3 separate regions of the Homo sapiens genome follow, and all the other regions are linked to region 3. The links are contacts of gene promoters, found by promoter capture Hi-C in human tissues and cell types (Jung and others, 2019). All regions are on one chromosome and are shown on one strand. Each heading gives the region's core, a stretch centred on a gene start or on the middle of the fragment in contact. The rest is flanking DNA. Distances are from core to core; before and after follow the strand shown.

Region 1 (4,587 bases), core at 891-3,390, 390 kb after region 3:
CTTTTTATAGCAAGTGAGCAAACAAACAAACTGTTTTGCCTTAAGAAGCCAAAAAGGAAAAAAGAAAAAGAAGGAGAATACATTTCTGCCACTGCTGGGAGCATCGTAAGAGCCACCTTGGTTGACCACAGAAAGAAGTGCAGGGTGCCAGGCACACTGAGGCCAGGGCCTTCCCTCCGCGGCCCCGAGGACAGCTGAGAACAGGCCAGCCCCAGCCGCTCAGATGCCAGCAACGTGCTGGCACAGTGCTCGCCCTGTTGTGAATGAGTCCTCAGTCCCTGCAGAAGCTCAGTGAAGTCGGATGGTCACTAACCCGATTTGACAGGTGAAGAGGGTGAGGCTCGGCAAGTTAGCAAGTGGGGAACCACGAGGTGGCCCCAGCTCTGAGCCCCCACCTGCCACACTGCCATGGGGACCCAAGGGTCTCCCGTTTATGAGCTCAGCCTTCCGAAGGCGAGGTGGAAGTGAAGGACTGCAAACCCCGAGTTAAACCCTCTGACTTCTCTCCACCTCCCTCGTGTCTTCCTCCTCTGGCCCTCAGACCCTCGAGCCGATGAAACGCACCACGACCTTGGCTTCCCGAGGCGGCCTCCCCTCACCCCGACACGGGAGCTGACATTGTGCATTCCATTCAGAGCTCCCTTTGTTCAGGCCACATAGAAACCAGAGCTGCTCGTCAGAGAAAAGCTCCATCCCATAATAAACAGCATGAACTATTTATAATCCCGAAAACATCTTTATTATTATTTTTCTTCCCTCCAGAAACAATCTCACGCAATCCTGTTAAGTACACACCACGGAGGACTGGAGGGCCACGGGTCGGGGCTGCTTCCCCTGGCCCTGCCCAGCGAACAGATGGCAGCGTGGGCGTTAGGTACCAGCCTCCTGGCAATCTGAACATCTGTTCCCGTTAGAAAATGCTAATTGCCATCAATCAGGACAGCACCTACCCACATTTACATGCAAGCACACATGCACAAAAAAAAAAAAAATACATCTAAATTTCTCCAAGTGCAACACTCCCTGCATGTTAACTAGCCTAAGCTTTGCCTCAGCCTCGGAGGAGCAGCCCCGTGGCCAGCTTCTGGCCTGGAGGGCTCCCGTCGGGGCCTGCCCTGGACCCACAGCAAGCAGTGAGGTTAGGGAGTCACTCGGCAGGTAGCCATGCTTCAGCCCCCGGTGGCCTCTCATCCGCCCAGCAGGGAGTAGGCACGGGATCGCGGCCTGGGCAGTGCAGGCCGCCTGGACAGAATCCCTCCCTAGCCTGGATGTTTCTCTCTACGCCTCCACAAAGCCACTCCTCCGGCTCCATCTGTCCTCGATGTCTGCACCCATTCCCCTCTCCCTGAGCAAAGCTTCTGGGCATCCCCACGGCCCCCAGGAACAACCCAGCTGGATCTCCCAGCCCAGAGGTCGTCTCCATATCCACATCCAAGGGCTGGCCCATGAGGCTCCCTCTGCCCAAAGTGCATGTGTGGAGACACCTGGCAGCTCCAAGCCAAGGTCCCAGACCCGGCCTCTGCTGGGCTGTGTTTTCTACCCCGTGGGGCTGGGGACAAGATCTCTCCAGCATGTCAGGTGGGACTGGGCCCCAGCGGCCTCCTCCCTCCTCTAGCCTGGAAGCCCTAGGCTTGTGAGGCCCCGCACCCTCTCCCGGATTGTTCTCTGGTTGAGCATCACAAAGCCACAGGCCTTGGTGATCAGGAAGAGTCCTGGGGGGCGGGGGGCGAGCACAGGCAGTGGAAGGGAAGCAAAGCTGCCCCAGATAGGTGGGTGACCCAGGATGGAGAAGGGCAGCACCTGCGAGTGTTTGCCCCTTGGGGAGTCGAGGGCAGAACCTCCCTCCTTCCTTGCCTGGCTTTCTGCAGAGCCCCTGCCCTCCCCAAGGAGCACAGACCCAGGCTACTCCCTGGGACCTTGGGAGGGTCACCTGCAGCCCTTCTGGAGACCACAGGGACCAATAACATGCCACAGTGACCTCAGGCCATGCATGCCCATTGGAGGACCCTCTGCATTTTTAGAAAGTGAGCTGGAAACATTGGCCTATTATATAATGAAAGTCCCACACACACACACCCTCCCCAAGAGAAAGCGATTTTGCTAATTTTTCTCCCGGGCGGCAGGCGCCGTTGCCAGCCTTGGTTGCTATGGGGCCCAGTGACTGGTTTGAGTGGTAAACTCAGGGGATTGGAGGAGAGGTTTCCATGGGGAGCCACAGAGTGCAGCCGATGAGAGGCCACAGGTCTCCCCACCTAGGGCAGCCCACACGACCAGGTGTGAAGAGGGCCTCCTGGACCCAGACCTGGCAGGTGACCCCATAACAGGCATGAGCCATCTCCATGACATCATAACAGGGTCTCTTAATGGGGACATCCCTGTCTGTGAACCAGGTACAGGCTTCCTCTGTGCACATGCATGACACATGCCATATGCATGCACTGCACACGTCTAGATAAGGTGCAGAGCTGGCACTGCCACGGGCATGTGTTATGGCCTCATCGAGATGGCTCAGGACTGCGGTGGCATCACCTGCCAGGTCTGGGTCCGGGAGGCCCTCCTCACACCTGGTGGCACGGGCTGCTGCAGACGGGGGGTCCTAGGGTCTCTCACCAGCCACACCGTGCTGCTTCCCATGGAAACCTCTCCTCTGATGCTTGAGAGAGGCTGATGTGTGGCTTAGGTCCCCAGAGTAGCGTGCCTTCCTCAGAGATTTCAGGGGATGAGTGATAAATAAAGAAGTGGGTGGAGATGAGGGCAGAGCGGGGAGGAGGGAGAGAAGGTGGAAAAACTCAAAGAACCTTGCTTCCAAATTTCTTTTACATTTTGCCTTCTTTTAAGATGATCCCTCTCTTGGTACCAGGTAAACTCATGTGGATGTTGAGGACATGAGGCCACCTGATGTCCCGGGGGCATGTCCCAGCTGTGCACCTGTGGCCAGCACTCCTGGGCCACCCCCTGCTCTGCCTGCCTGACAGAGAGGCTTACCGCCACCAGCAGCTCTGCTCCTGAGCTGCCTAACTGCAGATGGTGGGGGGCAGCACCTGTTCCGTGGGGCTTAGGGCCTCCGGCTTCCATCCATGAGTGCCAGCGTCCCTGGAACGTGTGCCCCACCTGCCTCCTGCCAGGATCCAGGAGTGGGCACCTCTCCTCCCTGGGATCACTATGGTCTTTGTTCAGAATCACAGTGTTTCTCTCTGCTATGGGCCTTTGAGTCCTCCCAGGAAGGGACCTTGAGCAAGGCCTCCGGGAAGTTGGCCTCCTCCTCTGCTTGCCCCCTCCCACCACGCCCTCTGACCCTCTGATTTCTCTGTGGCTCCTGAGCATGGCCTGTCTCCCTGCAAGGTGCCACAGGTATGAGAACCCAGGAGACGGTTCTTCTCCAACACCCGAGGCAGACGTCATGCCTCCTCCCTGCCTCTCACTTCCCACTTTGCAGCTTTACTGTCCGCATTGTTTGGTTCGCTGAGCCCTAGGAGCTGAGAGACTGGTTAACCATGAGGGACTGTGGAGCCAGGAAACATGACTTTGACCATTTGCCCTTCCCACCCTGAACCCCACACGCTAAGACCAAAGGAGGATGAAGTTTCCAAAATCAACTTCACAATAATGATAGAAATTAATGAGTTCCACACAGATAGGCAGATAGACAGGGGATGACGCATGAATAAATGGATACCTGCATAGATGGATAATAGATAGATGAGTAGATGGATAGGCAGATGGATATAGAGACATACAGATAGACAGGCAGGTAGACAGGTGACAGATGATGGATGGATGCATAGACAGATGATGGATGGATGGACAGGTAGGTAGACAGATACATAGATGGATGATTGAACAGACAGACAATAGATCAACAAATGAATGGATAGACGGGTACACACATGGATGATAGATAGATGCATACACAGACATAGGTAGATAGATCGGTAGCAGATAGGCAGGCAGGCAGGCAGACAGACAGGAGGATGGATGAATGAATGAATGGATGGATGGATGGATAGATAGATAGCAGATAGGCAGGCAGATAGACAGAAGGATGGATGGATGAATGGATGGATGGATAGATAGATAGGAGACAGGCAGACAGATAGGAGGATAGACGAATGGATGCATAGATAGATAGCAGATAGGCAGGCAGATAGACAGGAGGATGGATGGATGGATAGATAGATAGATAGGAAGATAGATGGCAGATAGACAGGAAGACAGGCAGGAGGATGGATGGATGGATGGATGGATAGATAGACAGCAGATAGGCAGGCAGATAGACAGGAGGATGGATAGATAGATAGGAAGATAGATGGCAGATAGGCAGGCAGATAGAGACGGGAGGATGGATGGATGGATGGATGGATGGATGGATGGATGGATGGATGGATGGATAGCAGATAGGCAGGCAGGCAGACAGGAGGATGGATGGATGGATAGATAGATAGACTGATTGATTGACTGATCGACTGACAGACTGACAGATAGATAGATAGATGGATACAGATAGATATGGATATAGCTCCTCTATAGAGGAGAAAATGTAGGGAAAAAACCCCTATATTTTCCCCTACACCTTCTCCTTTATGGGTC
Region 2 (4,572 bases), core at 2,027-4,526, 270 kb after region 3:
CAGCCAGGCAGTGAAGAAAAGGGTGCCATCATTCATCTTCCTTCATCATTCATGAGACAGGTCCTGTCAGCCCATCTTACAGGTGAGGAAGCTGAACTCAGAGGTGGAAGAACAGCCCAAAGTCACTCAGAGGAATCACGGGGCAGGAATTGGACACAGCCTGCCCGTATCTAAGCTCTTACATGAATCTCCCTGCCCACAGGTCGGCTGCATGCACAGGACCATGGAATTAGACCCCCATACTCTCCAGAGAGATCCCACTCAAGTGGGTATGAGAGATGCCAGGAAGATGCCACTGATCCATTAGTGTCTGTGACAAGGACAAACACTTATATAAACCACATCAAATCTCCAAGAGGGGTTAGTGTGGGCTACATGCACCCCTGTCAGAGGTGTAGGCAAATGGGATGGATGATTTGAGAATCAGGATGCTCATACACAGCTAGGGTTCTATGTCCCGGGTCCTGAGGCCAACATCTTTTCCTCCAGACTTTAAGGAGTCAAGACCTAAAGTAAAAAATGCAAATATATCTTCCAAAAAAATTCCTTGATTTGGGGGAAATTTTAACTGGCTAATTTGAGTTGGCATAAATGAAAAAATTCCAGACTGCCAGTGAGTACATCCTTGGAAGGCTCTACCATTCCCGAGAGCTTTCAAACAACCTCCGGCGATTCTACAAGCACCAATAAAAACAAGGACTATGCATCTCTCCCAACAGCCACCCCCTACCAGAGCTGCTGCCCTCTCCCTCTATCCCCTTCCTCATTGGGCTTCTCAATCATTTTCCTGCAGAGGATGGATTCATGTTGTCACTTTGTTTGATTATTTATTTATTTATTTATTTATTTATTTAGAAGACGGAGTCTCACTCCATTGCCCAGGCTGGAGTGCGGTGGCACAATCTTGGCTCACTGCAACTTCCACCTCCCAAGTTCAAGCGATTCTTGTGCCTCAGCCCCCCAAGTACCTGGGATTACAGGTGCATGCCACCATGCCTGGCTAATTTTTGGATTTTTAGTAGAGGTGAAGTTTTCACCATGTTGGCCAGGCTGGTCTCAAACTCCTGATCTCAGGTGATCCACCCACTTCAGCCTCCCAAAGTGCTGGGATTACAGGCATGAGCCACCACGCCCGGCCATCTGTTTGCTTTTCAACCCACCCCAATCTGCCTCTGTCCACACCACTTCATCAAAACTCTCTTATCAAGGTCACATTTGACCCTCTGACTGCAAAACTCAGAGGATGAAGTCACTTGCCTGTCCTCAGACCATACTTGACCACTCCTACCTTCCTTCTGGAAACAAGTTTTTCTTTGGTTTTGTGACACTAAACTGCTGACTGTTCTCTGCCTGTAGGGCTGATTATTCTCTGTTGTTTTTGCTGAACTCTAAATGCTGGAGTTCTTCAGAGGACAATTCTAACTGTCTTCTTCAACAGCAGTGTTCCTGAGAGCTTCTCTTCTCCACCTGTTTGTTTTGGTTTGTTTTGTTTGAAGAATTGATCCATTTTACCTAAATTGTGACATTTACGTGCATAGAGTTGCCTGTAGTATTCCCTTATTATCCTTCTAATGGCTGCAGGGTCTGTAGTGATGTCCCCTGCTTCATTACTGAGATTGGTAATTTGTCTTTTGTTTATCCTTGTTGGTCTTGCTAGATAGAAGTTTATCAGTTTTATTGCTCTGTTCATAAAGGGATTGAACCAATTTATGCTGTCCTTCTTATGAATAAGAAGCCTGATGATCATTATATTTTCTGAAACTTGGATTTGTCAGGCTTTGAAAGTCTTGCCAATCAAATGGAAGTTAAACGCTACTCATTGTGGTCTAGATTTGCATTTCCCAGCTGATTAGTGAGGTTAAACATCTCTTTTTATGTTTATTGATTATATATTCTCTTCTGTATGAAATTCCTGCCTGTCCTCTGCTTTTTTCTCTTTTGGGATGTTTTATACTTTTCTTCTTGATTTTCAGTTATTTAAACATTTTTGATACTAATCTTTTGTCAGTTGTGTGTATTGCCAATATTTTCTTCTAGTCTTTTCACTTCTTAAAGACTTCACTTTTTCTAAACCATTCAATATATTGAATTAAAAAGCACTTATTTTTTCTTAACTTTAATGTACTCAAGTCTGTCAATCTTTTTTTATACTCATTTGATGTGTCTTGTTTAAGACATTTTCCTCTATGAGATTTGTTTTTTGTTTGTTTGTTTGTTTTGTTTTTTTGAGATGGAGTCTTTCACCCAGGCTGGAATGCAGTGGTGTGATCTTGGCTCACTGCAATCTGCACCTCCCGGGTTCAAGCAATTCTCCTGCCTTAGCCTCCCAAGTAGCTGGGATTACAAGCACACACCACCATACCTGGCTAATTTTTTGCATTTTTAGTAGAGATGAGGGTTCCATCATGTTGGCCAGGCTGGTCTCGAACTCCTGACCTCAGGTGATCCACCCACCTCAGCCTCCCAAAGTGCTAGGATTACAGGTGTGAGCCACCATGCCTGGCCTCCTCTAAGAGATTTTTGACATTTAACTACTTCATCCACCTATGTCCATTTTCAAAATATGGTGTGAGGTAGAGATCTAATAGTGTACTTTGTATATGGGTAACTACACAATTTTTTTTTCCAGCTCACTTTGTTAAACATCCCTGCCTTTTGCCAGTGATTTGAAATGCTACCTCTAACATAACCAAAGTTACATAAGTTCATGGATCTGTTTCTGGGAATCCTGGGAATTGATTAATTGGTTGATCCTTATGACAACACTAGGTAATCTTAATTACCATAGCTTCACAATGAGCCCAGATATGCGATAGGAGAAGTATCTCCTTCATGCTCTGCTCCTCAGAGGGGTTCTGGCTAATTTTTGGTGTCTTAATCTTCTATATCGTCATTTGATGAGGCTCCAATTGGGAATTAATCAGAATTGCATTGGCTGTAGTCAATATAGATCAACATGGGGAAAATGACATTTTAATGATATAAAAACTTCCTATTCATTTATTAGAACTCCTCTACTTACACTTCATAAAGTTGTACATTTTGCCTGTATAAGTCTTAAGCATTTTAAAATTAAATTAAAATTAAATTTATTCCTAGGTATTTGACATTTTCTGATACTACTAAAAACAATGTCTTCTATTTGTGTGTGTTTGCTGCTGGTATGTAGATAAAAACTGAGTTAAACTTATGCCAGATAACTTGCTATACTCTCCAGTTTCTAAAAGATTTTGTGTAGATTTGGGCAAGGGTTCTATGTAAATGATCATATCATCTGAAAATAATACAATTTTTTGTTCTTTCCAATCCTTACACATCTAGCTTCTTTTTCTCTCTTTGTTGCACTGCATAGGAGAATGGAAGTTTTACTAGCTTTCACATCTGAATGACAATTTGGCTGCATGTAAAAGTCTATGTTCTATGTTCTTTTATTCTGTGCTTTGAATATATCACTCCATTGTCTTCCTGCATCTGGCATAGCTGTTGAAAATCCTGAAGTCTGTATAATAACTTGCTCTTTGTGTGTGATCTCTTCCTGTCTGGAAACATTAAGAACTTTATCTTTGTTATTCTTAAATTTCACTGTAAGTGTATAGGTTTTGTTTCCCTCTTATCTCTTCTTTTTGGGACTCCAAGACCTCTTCAACCTGGGCTCTTTCATCCTTTTTCTTTAAATCCCATTGATTTTATCTCCACATTTTCTTCATATATGTCCTCTTCTATATTTTTATTTTTCTCTCTTTGTAGGACTTCTATGATCCACATGTTAACAACTTAACATTAGCACCTTAACTTCTTTCCTCCTTGTGTTAGAACTTTTCTATTTTCTTTTTCTTTGTGCTTTTCCTTATTTTTTTCTTGGCTGATACATCAAGCTGGTCCTCCAATTCACAAATGCATTCCTCAGTTATTTATTCTAGTACTTTTCTCCTGTATCGCATTATTTCCACAGCTATACCTTAACACCAACAATTTCTACTCGGTTCCTTTGTATATCTTCTTGATCTTATTTCACATTGCTAATATGTCCCTTATCTCATTTAGGAGGTTTATTAAGCTTATTTTTAAAATTGGTCCCTCTGTTCTGGTATTTCTATTCTGATAGAATCTGGAAGCTGTAACTCAGTTTGTTGCCTTAAAAAAAATGCTTGTGCTTCTCGAATACCTTGTTATTTTGCCTGCCAGCTCATTCCCTCCAGTGGAAGTCTGCTACTCTGCCCTGCCCTGTCTGAGAGGTGGGTAGCCCAGTAAGCCTGAGTGATCTCAGAGAGCGGTGGGTGAATGTACTCCAAGTGGAGAGGCTCCAAAAAATCACAGTCAACCCCATCCACTCCACCAAATTCCTCCTTAGATCAGAGCTTCACCTTCCCCCTCCTGAGAGATGCGGCATTCAGAGGGACCTCCCCAAGCCTGAAATAGTGCAGTCTCCTGGTCGTCTGCAGAAAAGCGGGGAAGTGACTGCTGGGGTCAGGTGGGCTGCACCTGTTTTGCTTGGCTCCCTGTGAGCACAGGTCCCTCTGCTGCTGTGCTGTATTAACACCTGCACCTGAGCCCTGCATAGCCACAGGTATA
Region 3 (4,433 bases), core at 1,374-3,873:
GGCCCCTCCCAGCCCTTCCACAAGTGGCTTTCATCTCATGGTCTCAGATGGTTGCTGCAGTTCCTGCCATCACATCCTTGCACCCAGCTGGCGACCAAGAGAAGCCAGGAAGGAAAGGTGGAGGGCAATGCCCCCTTTGTTTTGCAGGCACAACCAGAATTGCACTTCTCACTTTGTTTCTTGTTTCATAAACCACAGCTTACTTGTAAGTAAGTACACGTGGAAGGTCTAAGTTCTGCCTCTGGGGAATGCTGTCTTCATCTGGGCTACCATGTAGTCAGCAAAAACGTGGGGCTTCCGTTCCTAAAGGACAGGCTCGGAAGGAATATTGGGGACAATTAGTTCCTGCCACACTCTTCAGCATATCAGCAACCAAGCCCGGGGACCAGGTGGTGTCCACTCACCTGATTCTCATTTCCGGCTCCCCCGGAGGCCATGAAGGAGGAGGCAGAGGAAGGCAGAGCAAGCAGGTGTGACTCTAGGTCCCCACTCCGGGCGCTCTGGGCATGGCGAGGGGGGGTGCAGAGGCAAGTGCATGCACTGCGTCACGACCTGCAACAGGAAGCTGATGGGACAGCATGGTCAGGCAGGGAGACCCGAGGCTCAGCTGTCCCAAACCAACCAGTACTGGTGTGGGCAGAGCCCAGGACAGCCAAGAGCCTGCAGGGAGGTGTCAGAGGGGCCCCTGTAACAGGGCAGGGTGGCTCTGCCGAGGCTGTAGTTCAGATTCACAGGTAGGGATGCCAGATTTAGCAAATGCATAGACAGCATCCTAGTTCAGTTTGAATTTTAGATAAATATGCAATAACTTTTTAATATAAGCTTGTCCTATGTCCCAGGCATCATTTATTTGGAATTCAAATTTAACTGATTGCTCTGTATGTTATCTGAAAACACCAGAAGGTTAGGGTTTTAGAGGGCCCACTCAGGCCTCAAACGGATCCAGAGCCCCAGTATGAGCCAATGTGAGCTCAAGGCAGACAGGGCCCCTCCAGGCTTGGCCTGACATCCAGAGAGACCACGAGCCACAGGGGCTAACAAGAGGCCACAAGGCCTAAGTCCTTTCTGTCCTCAGGGGCGTGCAAGGCTGCCTTCACTTTCTTGCTCTTCTAGACCAGGTGCCTACTCTTTGGAAAGGAGAGAAGAAAAGGGAGGTTTGGGCATATTTTCTCCCAGAGACTGAGCATTACCCAAAGGCTGTTCAAAGTATCCCTTAGAACTGTGTTCTAACCTGGGTAGGATGAAAGTTTATCTATTTTTATTGCTAAGCTGCAGGTGAGGGCTTGGGAACACCTGGTTACATGCACCCCAGATCAAGACTGTCCACGTCCGGTGCACCCCTGAACACAGCAGGAGGGAACTTGGGGATCCACTGCCCTCGCTCACTGTAAGCTTCCCAGGACTGAAGCCCCAAAGAGGAGCCCTCTGCCTTCTCTGTCCTCCCCATGGGTCAGCGTGTCCTGCTTCTGAGTGGCCCGTCCTTCCTGCCTAACTGGCTGGCCTGCACCATGGCCCATATTCAACAACCTTAGTCATAGTTCCCACCATTGGCGTTTATGGAAGCTTGGAGCCTCATAAAGTTCAAAGTCTGCAACAATAATAAAGGCCCAGTCAACTTGGCTTGGGCGGCAGCTGCAGCCCAGCACTGGAAGCTCCTAGCTGTGGAGGGGCGTTGGGGCCTGGAGGGAGGAGAGCCTTGGTTTGCCCTGTGGGGCCCAGCCTTGAGTTCTGGCTTCTCAGGGCTCTGTTCTATCATGTTTCCTGTGAACTCCTTTTGTGCCTAAGACGCTGGGCAGTGCCACTCTTGCAGAGGTGCCACTCCAGGCCCTGCACGCTTAGGGGTAGAGCAACTACTACTGTTGGGCACAGGCGTGGGGCTGTAGAAAGAAATCCGTGTTTCACTGGAAAACTATGCATCCTACATAGGACACCAGCTTCCACATGGCCCGATACTAACCTACTAACCTTTCATCTTTTTTTTTTTTTTTTTGAGACGGAGTCTCCCTCTGTCGCCCAGGCTGGAGTGCAATGGCACCGTCTCGGCTCATTGCAGCCTCTGCCTCCCGGGTTCCAGCGATTCTCCAGTCTCAGCCTCTCAGGTAGCTGGGATTACAGGCATGCACCACCACGCCCGGCTAATTTTTGTATTTTAAGTAGAGACGGGGTTTCACCATGTTGGCCAGGGTAGTCTCGAACTCCTGACTTCAGGTGATCCGCCCGCCTCGGCCTCCCAAAGTGCTGGAATCGCAGACGTGAGTCACCGCGCCCGGTCTGAAAATTATCTTTTAATAGGGGTTAGCTGCATGAGTTAAAATCTCATTGCCACCATTTGCTGACTTTGTGCCCTCTGGGAGATTGCTTAATCTCTCTGGGATAAACCTCGGTTTGCTTGACAAAGGAAGCTGGTGAGGCTAAAGAGAGAACTCTAAGATTGGGGCGTTCCGAAGCCTTCTAGAGCCTTCTAGCACCCTGGACTCATAGCCAATGATGGGCAACAACAAGAACGACGACGAACCCTGGGCTCGGAACTCGCCCAGGCCCCGCCCCTCACAGCCCCGCCCCGTCCTCGGCCCCGCCCCCGGCCTGTCGCCTCAACAAAGTCCCCGCCGCGCGGCCGCTGGCCGGGAGTCAGCTCGGAGTCCCGTCCCAGCGCGGCGTCAGCGCTGCGCACTTCCCATTGGCCGAGCGCGGCGCGGGGGCGGGCCCGGGCCTGCGATTGCCTCTCGGCGTGCGCGGACAGTGTCATGGAGGCCGCGGCGGTGACGGTCACCCGGTCGGCTACACGGCGGCGGCGGCGGCAGCTGCAGGGGCTGGCGGCCCCGGAGGCGGGGACGCAGGAGGAGCAGGAGGATCAGGAGCCGCGGCCGCGGCGGCGGCGGCCGGGAAGGAGGTGGGGCTGCGGGGCCCGCGTGAACCCCGATCCGCGGGGCTGAGAGTCCGTGGCCCCGGGGCCCGAGGTTTCCCGGCACGGGCGCGCCGAGGGGCGGGGGGCCGGCGCCTGTGTCCGCTCCGTGCACAGTAAGGGACAGAGGGTGGCAGCGCCCCTCCGCCCCGGTCCGCCCCGCCGTCCTCGCGCCACTGCCGGGCAGCGGCCTCCGGCCCCCGTGCGTGACCCCTGCCTATCTCAGAAATACGGGTGCAAACCCGAGTGGCCGCGGGGCCCAGCGGGAATCCCGACGCCCCGGCCAGACCCCTGCTTCCCACGTCGCTGGTCTATGCGGAAGATCCCGGCGGCGGTGCTCATGCCTGGCTCAGTGGATGCCGGCTGGTGGAAGGGGTGGCCTTCTGTAGGGGTGACACTAGAACTGAGTCTTTGGGGAGGAGGAAGCCTTCAGTAGGTGGAGAATAGGGAGTAGGGTATCCAACTGGCGGGGAACAGAAAGGGCCAAAGCACAGAGACAGAAAGGGACGAACATGCCCCTCTGGGCTGGGCTTCCTTCCTTTGGGGGGCACTTGCCCACCCGGTAAACTCCCCCTCAGTAGGTTGCAGGGGGAGAAGTTAGGAGCACAGACATGGCTTCCGGAAACAGCAGCCGTAGCTTTGTTTCTAAACCCAAAGCAGTGAGACTGCTGAGCATTTCAGACCTCATGAAGATGGGATGAAGGCTGGCTGCTGGGAAAGATATTTTTGGACAGGAGGAATGTGGAGATGGCTCTTTCCCTCCTAGTGGAGGAATGACAGGTGACAAAGGTGACCTGGTGTGGGATTGTTCTGAGAAGGTCTGGGAGGGGGTGGCTGAAGTATAATAAGGACATCAACGAGGAAGGGGGCTTTGGAAAAGGAAGGTGGAGAGGAACAACTGCGGCATCTCTGCTTGAATCCGTCCCCGACCCCTGCAGTTCTCAGGGTCTCCCAATGTCATTCTGGAGGCCCTGGGTCAGTGTTTGGTGATGGCAGATGCTACAGAGGACTCTTTGCAACAGGCCTCTGAATGGCAGTGGAGTGATGGCAGATGACAACTCAGTGAACAAAGAAGTGGCCTTGGGCGTTGGTAGATTTAGGGAATCTCAACGTTGGTGCCATGGCCTCTAAATAGCCACTGCGGTGTCTTCTTACTGCTCCTAAAATAATAATGATTTTTTAGGCCAGGCATGGTGGCTTATGCCTGTAATCTCAGCACTTGGGAGGCTGAGGCGTGTGATCACCTGAGTTCGGGAGTTTGAGACCAGCCTGGCCAACATGGTGAAACTCAGTCTCTACTAAAAGTACAAAATTAGTCAGGCGTGGTGGCAGATGCCTGTAATCCCAGCTACTTGGGAGGCTGAGGCAGGAGACTCACTTGAACCCAGGAACTGGAGGTTGCAGTGAGCTGAGATTTCACCACCTTACTCCAGCCTGGGCGACAGAGCGAGACTCTGTCTCAATTAATCAATCAATTTTTAAAAGAAAGTGGTTTGAGATGTATTTAGGAGCTTTCCATGTTAATGTACCG

Evidence for each region. The method cuts DNA at HindIII sites, captures the fragments that hold promoters and counts their contacts. A contact is called where the count stands out against the background at its distance.
Region 1: a contact is called between a fragment that was not itself captured here and the fragment with the promoter of ENGASE in region 3, in 4 of the 25 tissues and cell types used here (dorsolateral prefrontal cortex, lymphoblastoid cells, mesenchymal stem cells and 1 more).
Region 2: a contact is called between a fragment that was not itself captured here and the fragment with the promoter of ENGASE in region 3, in 4 of the 25 tissues and cell types used here (IMR-90 fibroblasts, lymphoblastoid cells, mesendoderm cells and 1 more).

Annotation. Positions count from the first base shown.
Region 1 is chr17:79,464,601-79,469,187 of GRCh38, forward strand. The region is part of intron 2 of RBFOX3 (RNA binding fox-1 homolog 3); the gene reads right to left. Among named protein-coding and RNA genes, the nearest start is that of RBFOX3, 140 kb to the right of the region's middle. The HindIII fragment of the contact is 3,575 bases long and covers 354-3,928 here.
Region 2 is chr17:79,343,718-79,348,289 of GRCh38, forward strand. All of the region lies in intron 2 of RBFOX3 (RNA binding fox-1 homolog 3), which reads right to left. Among named protein-coding and RNA genes, the nearest start is that of RBFOX3, 270 kb to the right of the region's middle. The HindIII fragment of the contact is 5,802 bases long and covers 376-4,572 here.
Region 3 is chr17:79,072,201-79,076,633 of GRCh38, forward strand. ENGASE (endo-beta-N-acetylglucosaminidase) reads left to right here and starts at 2,624. Exons shown (of 14, transcript NM_001042573.3): 1 at 2,624-2,890. The coding sequence starts at 2,745. RefSeq lists a silencer at 2,486-3,025. The HindIII fragment of the contact is 14,853 bases long and covers 1,108-4,433 here.